2 separate regions of the Homo sapiens genome follow, and region 2 is linked to region 1. Evidence: promoter capture Hi-C in 16 types of primary human blood cells and fetal thymus (Javierre and others, 2016). All regions are on one chromosome and are shown on one strand. The core of a region is centred on a gene start or on the middle of the fragment in contact, and the rest is flanking DNA. Distances in the headings are between cores, read along the strand shown.

What was found. Contacts are between HindIII fragments. The CHiCAGO score rates a contact against its expected background, and 5 or more counts as called.
Region 2: a fragment that was not itself captured here is called in contact with the fragment with the promoter of ADRB2 in region 1 in 2 of 17 cell types (naive B cells and total B cells); the score reaches 5.6 in naive B cells.

Annotation. Positions count from the first base shown.
Region 1 is chr5:148,822,887-148,829,960 of GRCh38, forward strand. ADRB2 (adrenoceptor beta 2) reads left to right here and starts at 3,725. Exons shown (of 1, transcript NM_000024.6): 1 at 3,725-5,737. The coding sequence starts at 3,946. The coding sequence ends at 5,187. RefSeq lists enhancers at 3,024-3,183, 4,040-4,625 and silencers at 3,454-3,763, 3,854-3,993. The HindIII fragment of the contact is 9,818 bases long and covers 1-7,074 here.
Region 2 is chr5:148,785,666-148,792,739 of GRCh38, forward strand. No RefSeq gene overlaps it. Among named protein-coding and RNA genes, the nearest start is that of ADRB2, 37 kb to the right of the region's middle. The HindIII fragment of the contact is 2,064 bases long and covers 2,584-4,647 here.

The sequences.
Region 1 (7,074 bases), core at 2,475-4,974:
AATGTTTGAACTAATTTACATTCCTACCAACAGTGTAAAAGTGTTCCTATTTCTCCACATCCTTTCCAGCATCTGTTGTTTCCTGACTTCCTGTTTTTTTTTTGAGACGGAGTCTCACTGTGTCACCCCGGATGGAGTGCAGTGGCACAATCTCGGCTCACTGCAACCTCCACCTCCCAGGTTCAAGCGATTCTCCTGTTTCAGCCCCCAGAGTAGGTCAGACTACAGGCATGCCACAACTTCTGGCTAATTTTTGTATTTTTATTAGAGACGAAGTTTCACCATGTTGGTCAGGCTGCTCTCGAAGTCCTGACCTCAGGTGATCCACCCACCTCAGCCTCCCAAAGTGCTAGGATTACAGGCATGAGCCACTGCGCCCGGTCTGTTTCCTGATGTGTTAATGATCGCCATTGTATCTGGTGTGAGATGGTATTTCATTGTGGTTTTGATTTGCATTTCACTAATAACCAGTGCTGATGATCTTTTCTTCATATGTTTGTTGGCTGCATTAATGTCTTCTTTTGAGAAGTGTCTGTTCATATCCTTTGCCCACTTTTTCATGGGGCTGTTTGTTTTTTCTTGTAAATTTGTTTAAGTTCTTTGTAGATTCTGGATATTAGCCCTTTGTCAGATGGATAGATTGCAAAATTTTTCCCCCTTTCTGTAGGTTGCCTGTTCACCCTGATGATAGTTTATTTTGCTGTGCAGAAACTCTTTAGTTTAATTAGATCCCATTTGTCAATTTTGGCTTTTGTTGCCATTGCTTTTGATGTTTTAGTCATGAAGTCTTTGCCCATGCCTATGTCCTGGATGTTATTGCCTAGATTTTCTTCTAGGGTTTTTATGGTTTTAGGTCTTACGTTTAAGTCTTTAATTCATCTTGAGTTAATTCTTGTATAAGGTGTAAGGAAGGGGTCCAGTTTCAGTTTTCTGCATATGGCTAGCCAGTCCTTCTTGATTTAGTATTTGTGGGTTTTAAAAAAGGAGTTTCCCAAAATATTCAGTTAAACTTTTAAGTGACTTACGTGTATATCTAAATACATGATCAGTTAATATTTGTCTTAAAGGGGTTTTCTTTGTTCTTTTCTTATTATAGGAAGGTTAAACAATATGCTTATTTATGCCATAGCTTCACAAACAGGAAGGAGGTTTTAAATGGTTTAGTTCCACAATTTGAGTAGATGCATATTTAAAGAAACGTTGTTGCATAATAAATACTGCCTCTTCCTAAAATGCATCATGCCACAGCCAATTTTGGAAAACACAAATATGAGGTGAGTGTATTTTGAAAACTATGTGAATATAATAGATCTTTAATTCATATTTGTGGATTTTATGGGAAATACTTGTTTTCTAAGGCATCTGTCTTGCAAAAAGTCAGTTTCTGCTATGAAGGATGTTAAAGGGGATATGTAGGTTAAATTCTGTTTCTGAGCTTTGCTTCCAGAGTAAACACCCAACTTACTTTTGCCCTAAAGTATTTTATTGTTCTAGTAGAGAAGACTAACAACATATTCTAAACCACTAAGTAATTTATGTAAACTTCGCTTACAAACTACACTTGTGTGACACTTATATGAGCAAAAGCATTTTCATATTTCTTACTATATCATTCAATTCTTGCTTACCCCAATGGAAGTGACTTTATGCCCCTTTAGAGACAATGGAAATCAGGTACTTCGTGATTTCTCTTAAAAAAAAAAAAAATGAACTAGAAAGCTCCAAGTTTGGTGAATCTGGAACCTGGGTATTCCAGTTCCAGTTGTAGCCCTTCCTCCCTATCCATCACTCCTGTCTGCATGTAATTATGCAATACATTGAAAAGATTAAAAGATGGGTCTTGGACTCAGGCAGACCTGGGTCAAATCCAGATTCTGGCACTGCCCAGCCATTGCCCCTGGGCAAGCCATTTTCCTCTTTGAACCTCATTTGTGAATTAAGCTAAAAATAGTCCCCACCCCCATGGGACTGTGGGAAGGATTAAATAGAATAATGCATGAAAAGCAAATAGCAGAATGGTCCATAAATGTTAACCATTGTTATGTTATTATGTAATCTACAAAGTACGTTTAGTTACACTTCATGAAATACTTTCAGTTTTTCAAAGACACCACTAATACATGGGAAATCAAACCCTGAAAATTAATTTCACTTTAGCAGTAAAGTCACATGCCAGATGGAAAGGATAGTATTTCATGAACAAAGATCTTACTTTTGAGATTTGGTCTTACTTTTTTCTTTTTCTTAAGGGAGAATTATCTTGTGTTTTTTGTTTTGTTTTGTTTTGAGATGGAGTCTTGTTCTGTCACCCAGGCTGGAGCGCAGTGACGTGATCTCGGCTCACTGCAACCTTCACCTCCCGGGTTCAAGAGATTCTCCTGTCTCAGCCTCCCGAGTAGCTGGGACTACAGGTACGTGCCACCACACCTGGCTAATTTTTGTATTTTTAGTAGAGACAAGAGTTACACCATATTGGCCAGGATCTTTTGCTTTCTATAGCTTCAAAATGTTCTTAATGTTAAGACATTCTTAATACTCTGAACCATATGAATTTGCCATTTTGGTAAGTCACAGACGCCAGATGGTGGCAATTTCACATGGCACAACCCGAAAGATTAACAAACTATCCAGCAGATGAAAGGATTTTTTTTAGTTTCATTGGGTTTACTGAAGAAATTGTTTGAATTCTCATTGCATCTCCAGTTCAACAGATAATGAGTGAGTGATGCCACACTCTCAAGAGTTAAAAACAAAACAACAAAAAAATTAAAACAAAAGCACACAACTTTCTCTCTCTGTCCCAAAATACATACTTGCATACCCCCGCTCCAGATAAAATCCAAAGGGTAAAACTGTCTTCATGCCTGCAAATTCCTAAGGAGGGCACCTAAAGTACTTGACAGCGAGTGTGCTGAGGAAATCAGCAGCTGTTGAAGTCACCTCCTGTGCTCTTGCCAAATGTTTGAAAGGGAATACACTGGGTTACCGGGTGTATGTTGGGAGGGGAGCATTATCAGTGCTCGGGTGAGGCAAGTTCGGAGTACCCAGATGGAGACATCCGTGTCTGTGTCGCTCTGGATGCCTCCAAGCCAGCGTGTGTTTACTTTCTGTGTGTGTCACCATGTCTTTGTGCTTCTGGGTGCTTCTGTGTTTGTTTCTGGCCGCGTTTCTGTGTTGGACAGGGGTGACTTTGTGCCGGATGGCTTCTGTGTGAGAGCGCGCGCGAGTGTGCATGTCGGTGAGCTGGGAGGGTGTGTCTCAGTGTCTATGGCTGTGGTTCGGTATAAGTCTGAGCATGTCTGCCAGGGTGTATTTGTGCCTGTATGTGCGTGCCTCGGTGGGCACTCTCGTTTCCTTCCGAATGTGGGGCAGTGCCGGTGTGCTGCCCTCTGCCTTGAGACCTCAAGCCGCGCAGGCGCCCAGGGCAGGCAGGTAGCGGCCACAGAAGAGCCAAAAGCTCCCGGGTTGGCTGGTAAGGACACCACCTCCAGCTTTAGCCCTCTGGGGCCAGCCAGGGTAGCCGGGAAGCAGTGGTGGCCCGCCCTCCAGGGAGCAGTTGGGCCCCGCCCGGGCCAGCCCCAGGAGAAGGAGGGCGAGGGGAGGGGAGGGAAAGGGGAGGAGTGCCTCGCCCCTTCGCGGCTGCCGGCGTGCCATTGGCCGAAAGTTCCCGTACGTCACGGCGAGGGCAGTTCCCCTAAAGTCCTGTGCACATAACGGGCAGAACGCACTGCGAAGCGGCTTCTTCAGAGCACGGGCTGGAACTGGCAGGCACCGCGAGCCCCTAGCACCCGACAAGCTGAGTGTGCAGGACGAGTCCCCACCACACCCACACCACAGCCGCTGAATGAGGCTTCCAGGCGTCCGCTCGCGGCCCGCAGAGCCCCGCCGTGGGTCCGCCCGCTGAGGCGCCCCCAGCCAGTGCGCTCACCTGCCAGACTGCGCGCCATGGGGCAACCCGGGAACGGCAGCGCCTTCTTGCTGGCACCCAATGGAAGCCATGCGCCGGACCACGACGTCACGCAGGAAAGGGACGAGGTGTGGGTGGTGGGCATGGGCATCGTCATGTCTCTCATCGTCCTGGCCATCGTGTTTGGCAATGTGCTGGTCATCACAGCCATTGCCAAGTTCGAGCGTCTGCAGACGGTCACCAACTACTTCATCACTTCACTGGCCTGTGCTGATCTGGTCATGGGCCTGGCAGTGGTGCCCTTTGGGGCCGCCCATATTCTTATGAAAATGTGGACTTTTGGCAACTTCTGGTGCGAGTTTTGGACTTCCATTGATGTGCTGTGCGTCACGGCCAGCATTGAGACCCTGTGCGTGATCGCAGTGGATCGCTACTTTGCCATTACTTCACCTTTCAAGTACCAGAGCCTGCTGACCAAGAATAAGGCCCGGGTGATCATTCTGATGGTGTGGATTGTGTCAGGCCTTACCTCCTTCTTGCCCATTCAGATGCACTGGTACCGGGCCACCCACCAGGAAGCCATCAACTGCTATGCCAATGAGACCTGCTGTGACTTCTTCACGAACCAAGCCTATGCCATTGCCTCTTCCATCGTGTCCTTCTACGTTCCCCTGGTGATCATGGTCTTCGTCTACTCCAGGGTCTTTCAGGAGGCCAAAAGGCAGCTCCAGAAGATTGACAAATCTGAGGGCCGCTTCCATGTCCAGAACCTTAGCCAGGTGGAGCAGGATGGGCGGACGGGGCATGGACTCCGCAGATCTTCCAAGTTCTGCTTGAAGGAGCACAAAGCCCTCAAGACGTTAGGCATCATCATGGGCACTTTCACCCTCTGCTGGCTGCCCTTCTTCATCGTTAACATTGTGCATGTGATCCAGGATAACCTCATCCGTAAGGAAGTTTACATCCTCCTAAATTGGATAGGCTATGTCAATTCTGGTTTCAATCCCCTTATCTACTGCCGGAGCCCAGATTTCAGGATTGCCTTCCAGGAGCTTCTGTGCCTGCGCAGGTCTTCTTTGAAGGCCTATGGGAATGGCTACTCCAGCAACGGCAACACAGGGGAGCAGAGTGGATATCACGTGGAACAGGAGAAAGAAAATAAACTGCTGTGTGAAGACCTCCCAGGCACGGAAGACTTTGTGGGCCATCAAGGTACTGTGCCTAGCGATAACATTGATTCACAAGGGAGGAATTGTAGTACAAATGACTCACTGCTGTAAAGCAGTTTTTCTACTTTTAAAGACCCCCCCCCCCAACAGAACACTAAACAGACTATTTAACTTGAGGGTAATAAACTTAGAATAAAATTGTAAAATTGTATAGAGATATGCAGAAGGAAGGGCATCCTTCTGCCTTTTTTATTTTTTTAAGCTGTAAAAAGAGAGAAAACTTATTTGAGTGATTATTTGTTATTTGTACAGTTCAGTTCCTCTTTGCATGGAATTTGTAAGTTTATGTCTAAAGAGCTTTAGTCCTAGAGGACCTGAGTCTGCTATATTTTCATGACTTTTCCATGTATCTACCTCACTATTCAAGTATTAGGGGTAATATATTGCTGCTGGTAATTTGTATCTGAAGGAGATTTTCCTTCCTACACCCTTGGACTTGAGGATTTTGAGTATCTCGGACCTTTCAGCTGTGAACATGGACTCTTCCCCCACTCCTCTTATTTGCTCACACGGGGTATTTTAGGCAGGGATTTGAGGAGCAGCTTCAGTTGTTTTCCCGAGCAAAGTCTAAAGTTTACAGTAAATAAATTGTTTGACCATGCCTTCATTGCACCTGTTTCTCCAAAACCCCTTGACTGGAGTGCTGTTGCCTCCCCCACTGGAAACCGCAGGTAACTACTTGTAATTACTGCCCATGACTTAATGTAGAATGATACAAGAATGACATGCACAGATTGCTTAACCCTTTCATTTGCCTTTGAGTCTGCTGCTGCAAAGCTGCATCTCTCCTGACACTTGTGCCCCAAATCAGTTCTGCCTGCTCTTAGTATAGCTCAACTCTCCCTATGGTTATTGTTCTGTGTTGTTACCTCAGAAACACTGACTCACAGAAGCGGAGTTAAGGGGATATGTTTTTTTCTCTCCACGTGCACCCACCACCCACCTTCCAGTTCTACTTGTTTCAAAACTGTTTATATTTCTGTCTTGGCCATGTGTTACAGTGGAGCTCTTTGTACTGCATCAGGGCTTGGCATTTTAGGGATAAGGAAGATGTTCTTATGAGGAAGCTACTCAGACATGGCCCCGTAATTCTGAGGGAAAATTCAAAAGGCATTGGTCATGGGGAGAAAAGCTGGAGAACACATAACTGATGGATACCTCATGAACTAGAAACAGAATTTTAACCCCTTTTCCTTCTTTCCTTTGGTCCCTGTTTTCTTCTCCCACTGACTCTCCTCGATTCAGTGTAAACCAAGGTTCTGAGTCTTAGCACTGTTAGCATTTTGGACCAGATAACTCTTTGTTATGGGGGCTGCATCATTGTATGTGTAGCACCTCTGGCCTCTGTTCATTAGATGCCAATAGCACCCCCTGCTTATAACAAGCAAAAATGTTTCCAGACATTGCAAAAGAGCCCCTGAGGTGCGAATTAGCCCCTGGTTGAGAGTCACTGGTAGAAACTGTAAAAATCTCAGCAGATACATACATTCTTTCTAATGCAAGCGCTTGATTGTGCAGAGCCTTAGAGAGGGATTTTCACAGTTCACCTAGGCAGTAACAGACCCTCACCAGCACTCTTTCCATTCCATCATGCTGCCTTCTAAACTTGTTTTCTAGCTGCCCAAATAGTGATCATGAAATGTTAAGAAGGCTTTAAGTCTGTACATGAATTGTTTGAGAGGGTTTATCAATGGAGGTGAGGCCTGTGGGCCATGACTCCTGTTTGTGAAGAGATTATAATACTGTCAAGAGGCACGTTAGGGGAAATCACAAAAGTAAACACATTTCTTCTCCCAGCCCCTTTCTATTTTTGCCTGTGTGTCTGAGCCAGAGCTTGGCCCAGGTTTGATGAAGTGGATCGTCCTCCTTGGCAACGCCAGGCTAGAGCAGATCAGCCTGCAGGGTTCATTGCCATTCCACTGGCTCATGAAGCTGACT
Region 2 (7,074 bases), core at 2,366-4,865, 37 kb before region 1:
TGAAAGGGGGAAGATATAGAATCCCTTACCCAGAAACTGGGGCTCCAGGATTTCCGAGAGTGGGATAAAGAGCATAGCCAAAACACGGGAGTATACTACTTTAAAAAGTAATGACGGTATAGACAGGTTGTTCAGAATTACTGAGATAAATAATAGAGGATACAGTTTAAAAAGTTGACAGTGGTTGCCTCGGGATTGAAGCTAAAAGAGAGAGAAGTGGATAGAGGATTGCCATTTTTTATTGTGTACTATAGTTCAACATCTTTAACTATATACATTATTAATTTGAAAAATGCCTTTTAAAGTTATTATTATTCAACGTCATGCTAATATACTTGAATTTTCAGTGACATAGCTTAGCCTTTGCAGCAATATAAATGACCAAAATTGACCCCCAAAGAAAAAGAGATGTAAACTCACTAATGAACCAAGAAAGAAATTGGAAAAAAATTTTAAATAAGTCTTATTACTACCACAACAAATATAATTGGTATTACAGGTAATTTTTTTTGAATATTTACTTCCAAAATCTGTGTTTTAAAATAAAAAGAAAATTTTTATATGGTAAGTAATTTATTTTATTATGAGACTTTCTAAACAGAATCTAAGCAAATAGAATTTATCCATATGCTAAGATATATTCTTTGTGACTAATCACAGTTTATACTATTATTGCAAAACTAGAAAAAATAAAAGAAATTACTTAATAATTCTAAGCAAAAACCATTAAATAGACTTGAATAAAATTATAAATCTTTGACATAAACCAGACTAATACTAGAAATACAATAAAAGATAAAATATGTGTTATGTCCTCCAGGAATTCATGGTGTAATATTTTCATAATAAAAAAAAGTAGAAGAAATTCTTATTTAAAGTGCAAAAGAACACTTGACAAAAATAATGACTTAAAATCATCCACTGTTTGAGCAAATATCTTTGTAAGATCTGTGAGCCAGACACTCTTGGGTAAGGGTTGGATAAGATGAGTAAGAGACTGACATGAATTTAAGAATAATCATATCCTGATCTCAGTTGTTATCATAATAGATGACATTTCTTGAGCACTTATGTGATAAAGCTGGAAACTTTACACAGTAATAGTGACCAGTAGCTCCTTAGCTGGAATAGAAAAAGCAGTAGGGGGGTTGAGCCAGACTGGCAGGCCATTGGATCACATATGAGGGAACTGAGGAAACTGAGAGAGAAGCTTGTAGTCAGGGAAAGGAATTTTGGCACTGGGGATTCTGGAAGTACAGTTACAGGCAAGGATAGGTACCAAACCACAATGCAATGCTTAATAGCAAAATGGAAATCACCCAAATGCCCCAGCTTAGAGTGAGATAAAGCCGACGATGGTATCCTTAAAGCAATCAACTATTGTGTAGCCATAAAATTGTAAAACTACAAAGGCCATAAGGATACATAAAGATGTACATATAAATTATGCTAAGTGGAAAAAATTAACCCAAGTATTAGAGCTGAGCAAAATCTCTGCTTGCACATTGACAGAAATAAAAAGAAATTATAGGCATGGTTAATAGCTTCAAAAAAGTTCTATTTTTGTGTCTTTGGCAGTGTTCTTGTCTTAGTTCATTCCTGCTGCTATAACGAAAATATCTGAGACTGGGTAATTTATAAGGAACAGAAATTTATTTCTCACAGTTCTGGAGGCTGGAAAGTCTAAGATTAAAGCTCCGGCTTCTGATGACCATTGAGGGCCTTCTTGCTGAGTCTTCACAGGGCAGAAGCTAGCCGGCTAAACGCCTATGCAAAGCCTCTACTTTTAAAAGGGTCTTCATCCCATTAGTGAGGGAGCAGCCCCAGGGCCTAATTATTTCATGAAGTCTCCACCTCTTAATTGCAACACTGGCAGCACCTGAACTTTGCAGGGGACATGTTCAAAACATGGCAGTTCTATAAGCATGTACTTTCTTTAAAAGGAAGACCATCTTCAGTTACTCCCAAATTATCTCCTTTGCTGAATCAGAAAACACCTGTCAGGACTCCAGAGATTCCACAGTTAACTTACTTCTCTTTCTTTACTCTTGGACCCACAATAAGTTATGTCCCTATGCTGAACTGAGAAAGCATTTATAAATAAAAGACAAGTTTAATAAACCTCTTCTTTTCACCAAATAAATCCCAGTTCAGAAATGCCAGCAGATGTCTGAAACAGCAAAGAATAATGCATAAATTTATTGCTTTATTTTACCTGGAATATCCACGGTATCAATAAGTTTTTGTAGTTGAAAGATAATCTGGAAATCTAGACTAGTAATCTTCAATTCTGTTCTACAGAGATGACTCAGGGATCACCTTTGGGATAAGGGGTGACAAGGTGGGAAAGTAAGCACAATTCCTTTGTCTCTCCTCCCACACTCCCCCTGGAGCTCCAAATGCATGAGCAATTCAAGCAGAGCAGCTTTGGTAAAATATTGGCTCCATAGGCTAGTGTTTCCAAACATAACAGCATATAAAAGTCAAATGAGGAGTCTTTAAAACATTGAGTCCTGGGCCGCACACCAGACCTATCGAATCGGCATCTCTAGTAATGGAGCCCAATGATCGGTATCAGTTTAAAGCTTCTCATTTAATTCTGATGTAATCCAAATAAGGGAAACTTTTCTAAAGAAGACTGGAAAGAAGGAAACATATGACCTCTGCTGAAATGTTTCTTATTATGGGAGCTTCTCCCCAACAGAAGGCATTTGTAATTACTAAGAGAGAACACCCTGTCCATGGAGCTGAGCTAGCTCTTTCTGCCCTCTTATGCTACTTAGTCCCAGTGACCTCCCTCATTCCCAGGACAGATGAGGGCGTTTACACCTGGGTGGCTGCCCCCTCACCATAGAGCTTCACCTCTTTTCTGTTACCCAGCTTCATCCACCTTGCCATAAGAGTCAACAAGATTCAAAGTCATTCAATCATAATTCCTTAACTTCTGGCTAGAGTTTTTGACCCAAGCTGATTCAATCAGAGCACTCCTCCACGACTTTTAAAGATTAAAGCTGGAATATAGAATCTTTTCTTTTTGAAGTAATAGAGCTAGACAAATGTAAATCTACGGCCACTAGTGGTCATATCTTCATCGTAGTGGGTCCCATGATGGGCCTCTAGATATGCCACCAGATCAGGACTGATGCATTGACACTGACTACCGCAAATGCCACTAGTACGACTCACAGCTGAATCTTTCTCTGCACAAGGAAGCTGCCTTTCCCTTGGTTTCCCAGCCAGCCACATCCAATAATTGGTTAATATAGAGGTATAAAGACCTGATACCTCTGTTTAAATTTGGGAAAATCTTGAAGAGCTATCGCAGCTCCAGAGATCCCCATGGGATTGGATGAGGCAATTGTTGTGAAGGCACTGTAGCCCAACTTCTCCCTCTTTCCCCTCTTGCTTCCTTCATTCTCTCAGAGCTGGTGTCCACACAGATCTCCATCGGAGAGTTTGTTTTCCCAGGGAACCTAACCTATGTCATTATGGAAGAAACCCATCTGCTGAAGGAGGAAACAGGGCTGAACAGAGACAATAGAAATGAGAGACACCCATATGGAATCCTGACTCTCTTAAATCTTCCAATTGTGCATAACTATACATAGTTCTAAATAGCTCACCATCCTGATAATGTGATGCTCAGGCCTGAATATAATTGTCCAAGGCTGGACCCGCTAGACTAGAGTATGGGGGGATTTTACACTCATGGAACTTCTTAATTTAGCTGAACATTAGATGAGCTTTTTAGAAGCCCCAAAATCCTGTTGGTTTATTGGAGACTGTGTTCAACAAAGACTCCTACATTTCCTTCTGTTGAGCCAGCTACCTCTCCCTGCATCCAAACATCATTTACTCTCCTTGAAGAACTGCCTACACTTTATGGCTGGCAGTATTTCTTAGCCTTTTAAACACATGCACCAAATATGAGCACAGATCTGGAAGAAGCTGAAGGGACGAGGAGGTGGGAGGTTGTTTTTGCAGTTTATAGTATAAAAACAGTAAGTTACATGGAACACAATTTTTCCAAAACTGCACAAACTGTTCAACCATCCTATGTTCAGCCCCCTAACAATTGTAGAAGACATCTCTTTTATGACGACTTGGAGTTCTTATAGTTCTTACTTAGAACTTTTAAGCAGCGCTAATATCTGTGGTGCACATAACAAAAGTTCCAGAGATATTCCCTTTGCCAGTAATGAAGCTAGGTCTGAAAATTATATGCTCTGGTAACAAAGTTCCAACGAGAAAAATTGAAGTGGTAACAAATTTGAGCAAGTTTATTTTCTTTAATTTCTAACCATGAAATGTTTGGATCTGTATGGGACTTTGAAGATCATCTAGTGCCAGAATGGCAAACACTCCCCACTCCCTTTATGTCTCTCCTCCGCCAGAGTCCTTGGCAGACATTACTATGGGACTCAAGATTCTTCTCACAGAGCTTCAATGCTGCTCATTTTCCAAGGATCTTCTTCCCAAGGATCCAAATGATGTTCCATAATTCTCAGCACACCGCATCAGACAGCTACTACCAATTAATTGGTCTGGAAAACTAGACAAACTTTATTTCCTTTTTTTGCCCCAATCACCCTACTCTCCTAAAGGGGTAAAATCATTGACCCAAATTTATGTAATGCTTACTAATCAAGCTTAAACTCCTGATTCCCAAATCAGTGCTCTCTCTCTTTTTCTTCCCCCTCTTCATTGAAATTTCTCCAGTAATTTTAACCATTATATGCCCACAGGCTAGTCAGGTATGAAGAATTCTGGACCCAACTTCAACTGGCATGTCCTCCATTATCGAATGAGTGTGTAGCTGTTGCTCACGCTGCTTATGACATATGTAGGAACATAGAGGCCATCTGAAGGAAGAGAGGTGGTCAAGCTGGGCTCCAGTTCCCACGCGGTTATAGATGCTTCAATAATAATAATAAAATGCTACGACAAATAGAAACATGCCCTGCACCCAATGACTCATGGCTCTAAGCTAATCCCACAATGGCCCCACCTCAGTATTAAAAACACGAGAGAGAGAGAGAAATATAATTCCATGTATGTCCGTCTGTTTGGTAACCAAAACAACCAGCCATAAATGGGAAGTGACTCCCTGATAAATGGTTTTGTGTGAAGTTAAGACCATCTCACTTGCTCTTGAACTGTCACCTGGGGCCTTGAAGAAACAAGTGGCCCTAAGGCTATTTGGGCTCCTTTAAAAATGCTAACCCTCTCCAGTGCCAGCACCATTTTTCTTGTGCTTAGAGGATGGCAGCACTATAGGTGGGATGGAAAATAACCAGCTGGCATGAGGTGCCCTAGGAGCCAGTCTGAAATTACAGGATGATGTGTCAGGATCCAGGAAATGATGGGTGCAATGAGTGGGTCATTCTTTCTCCTTGGCACACGAGAACACACCTAGAACTCTAACCTCCATCCTAGGAGGTCTGAACGCCAAAGTGAAATGAACTTTAGAGACACCAGACACAATCCCACCACTTAGTAGATTATTAGAATGAGGACCAGAGAGGGAAGAGACCTGGCTAAGGTCACACAGCAAGTATGACTGGTGTTTCCAAAAGTAGATTCTTGGAGTAGTAAAAAGAAACTGGAAACATGTAAACATCAGGAGCAATGATAAACTGAAATAATTCATCCAGTGAAACGCCACCTGGTCTTGAAGGAAGAGAGGTGGTCAAGCCAGACTCCAGAGCTGCTCACCACAGGAAGGAGGGGTCCCATCCCCCACCCACATCCACAGCCCTACCCCACCAATGTGTCCCCCTTTTTCCATCTCTGACTCTTACTAAAGCAAAATGCTAGCTACAAAGTGACTCATTTTGGGAAATAGACTTTGTGACTCAGTTCTGCTCTCTAACCACTAGACTAAGCTCCTCATGACTTAAGGAGGTTTCACTACATCTATCAACAAGCTGAATGAGAGGGGATCCCCTTGCATAAAAGACAAATAGGTGGTTTATCCATCAGTGGTAGGTACTATGAAATAAAAGGCAATGTAATATGTAATTAATTCAGTATACATTAAACTAGGATCAATGCCAGACATACTATCCTCTTATATCCTCATAACAACCCCACTGGTAAAGACAATTATTCAATGTATCTAGAAGCTAAGAATCAGAGATGGTAAGTGACTGGAAATGAAGTTTGGGAGAGGTTAGGTGACTTGTCTGAGTTGGCAGAGCCGGGATTCAAGCCAAGTTGTCTTGGTTTCCTCTGCTCCATACCCTTGGTTCCCAAACCCACACCCCACTGTGGCATTTTTCACATGGCCAAGGTGATACAGCAGAGGCAAGCTTCCAGTCTCCTACCTCAAAGGCACAGCGACCTCTGTGATTTAATCACCACAACAGTTCTGTGGAGGGTTGGCAGGGGATTTGTCAGATAAACAACAACAACAAAAACCAACAGATTTCAGAAGCATAAATCCCACGTGGCCTGGAGGCAACCATTTTCTGTGTAGTAGCCTCGGTCTTCTTCATTTGTAATATGGGGATAATTAGAGCATCTACCTGATAGGTTTGCTCTAAGGACGAAGTGAGATAATATAAGTGAAAAGCACTTTGTGTAAACTGCTAAGTGTCATTCAGTGAAAAAAGAATCAGAGACATGCCGAAAGGACAAGCAAAATGCTAACCCAATGAACTGGGTCTAGTATAAAACCATTACTTGCCTCATAACAAGAAATAATAGTGATATATATCTACTTAATGCCTACAGCTTTATAGTTTATATAGAGTTTTTTAGAACACAATTCTTTTCAAATCAATAACCAATAGCCATGATTTGAGTCTTTTCTAAAAATGTATTTGGTATAGCCATTTACATGGTGAAGCTATAATATATATGCTAGGTAAGTTGTGGCAGCCTATGTTAGAAATCGTATATAATTCTAACAAATTTCTTCTGAAGTAGGTGCTGCTCCACAGCTAATGAGAGGAGAAGCTGAGCTTTGAACCTAGGCCTGGCCTGACTTTCAGGAACCTACGGTGCACACTTTTCCAGAACACCACAACTCACTGCACCCTCAGCAGGCCCCAAAGCAGAGTGTTATCCACC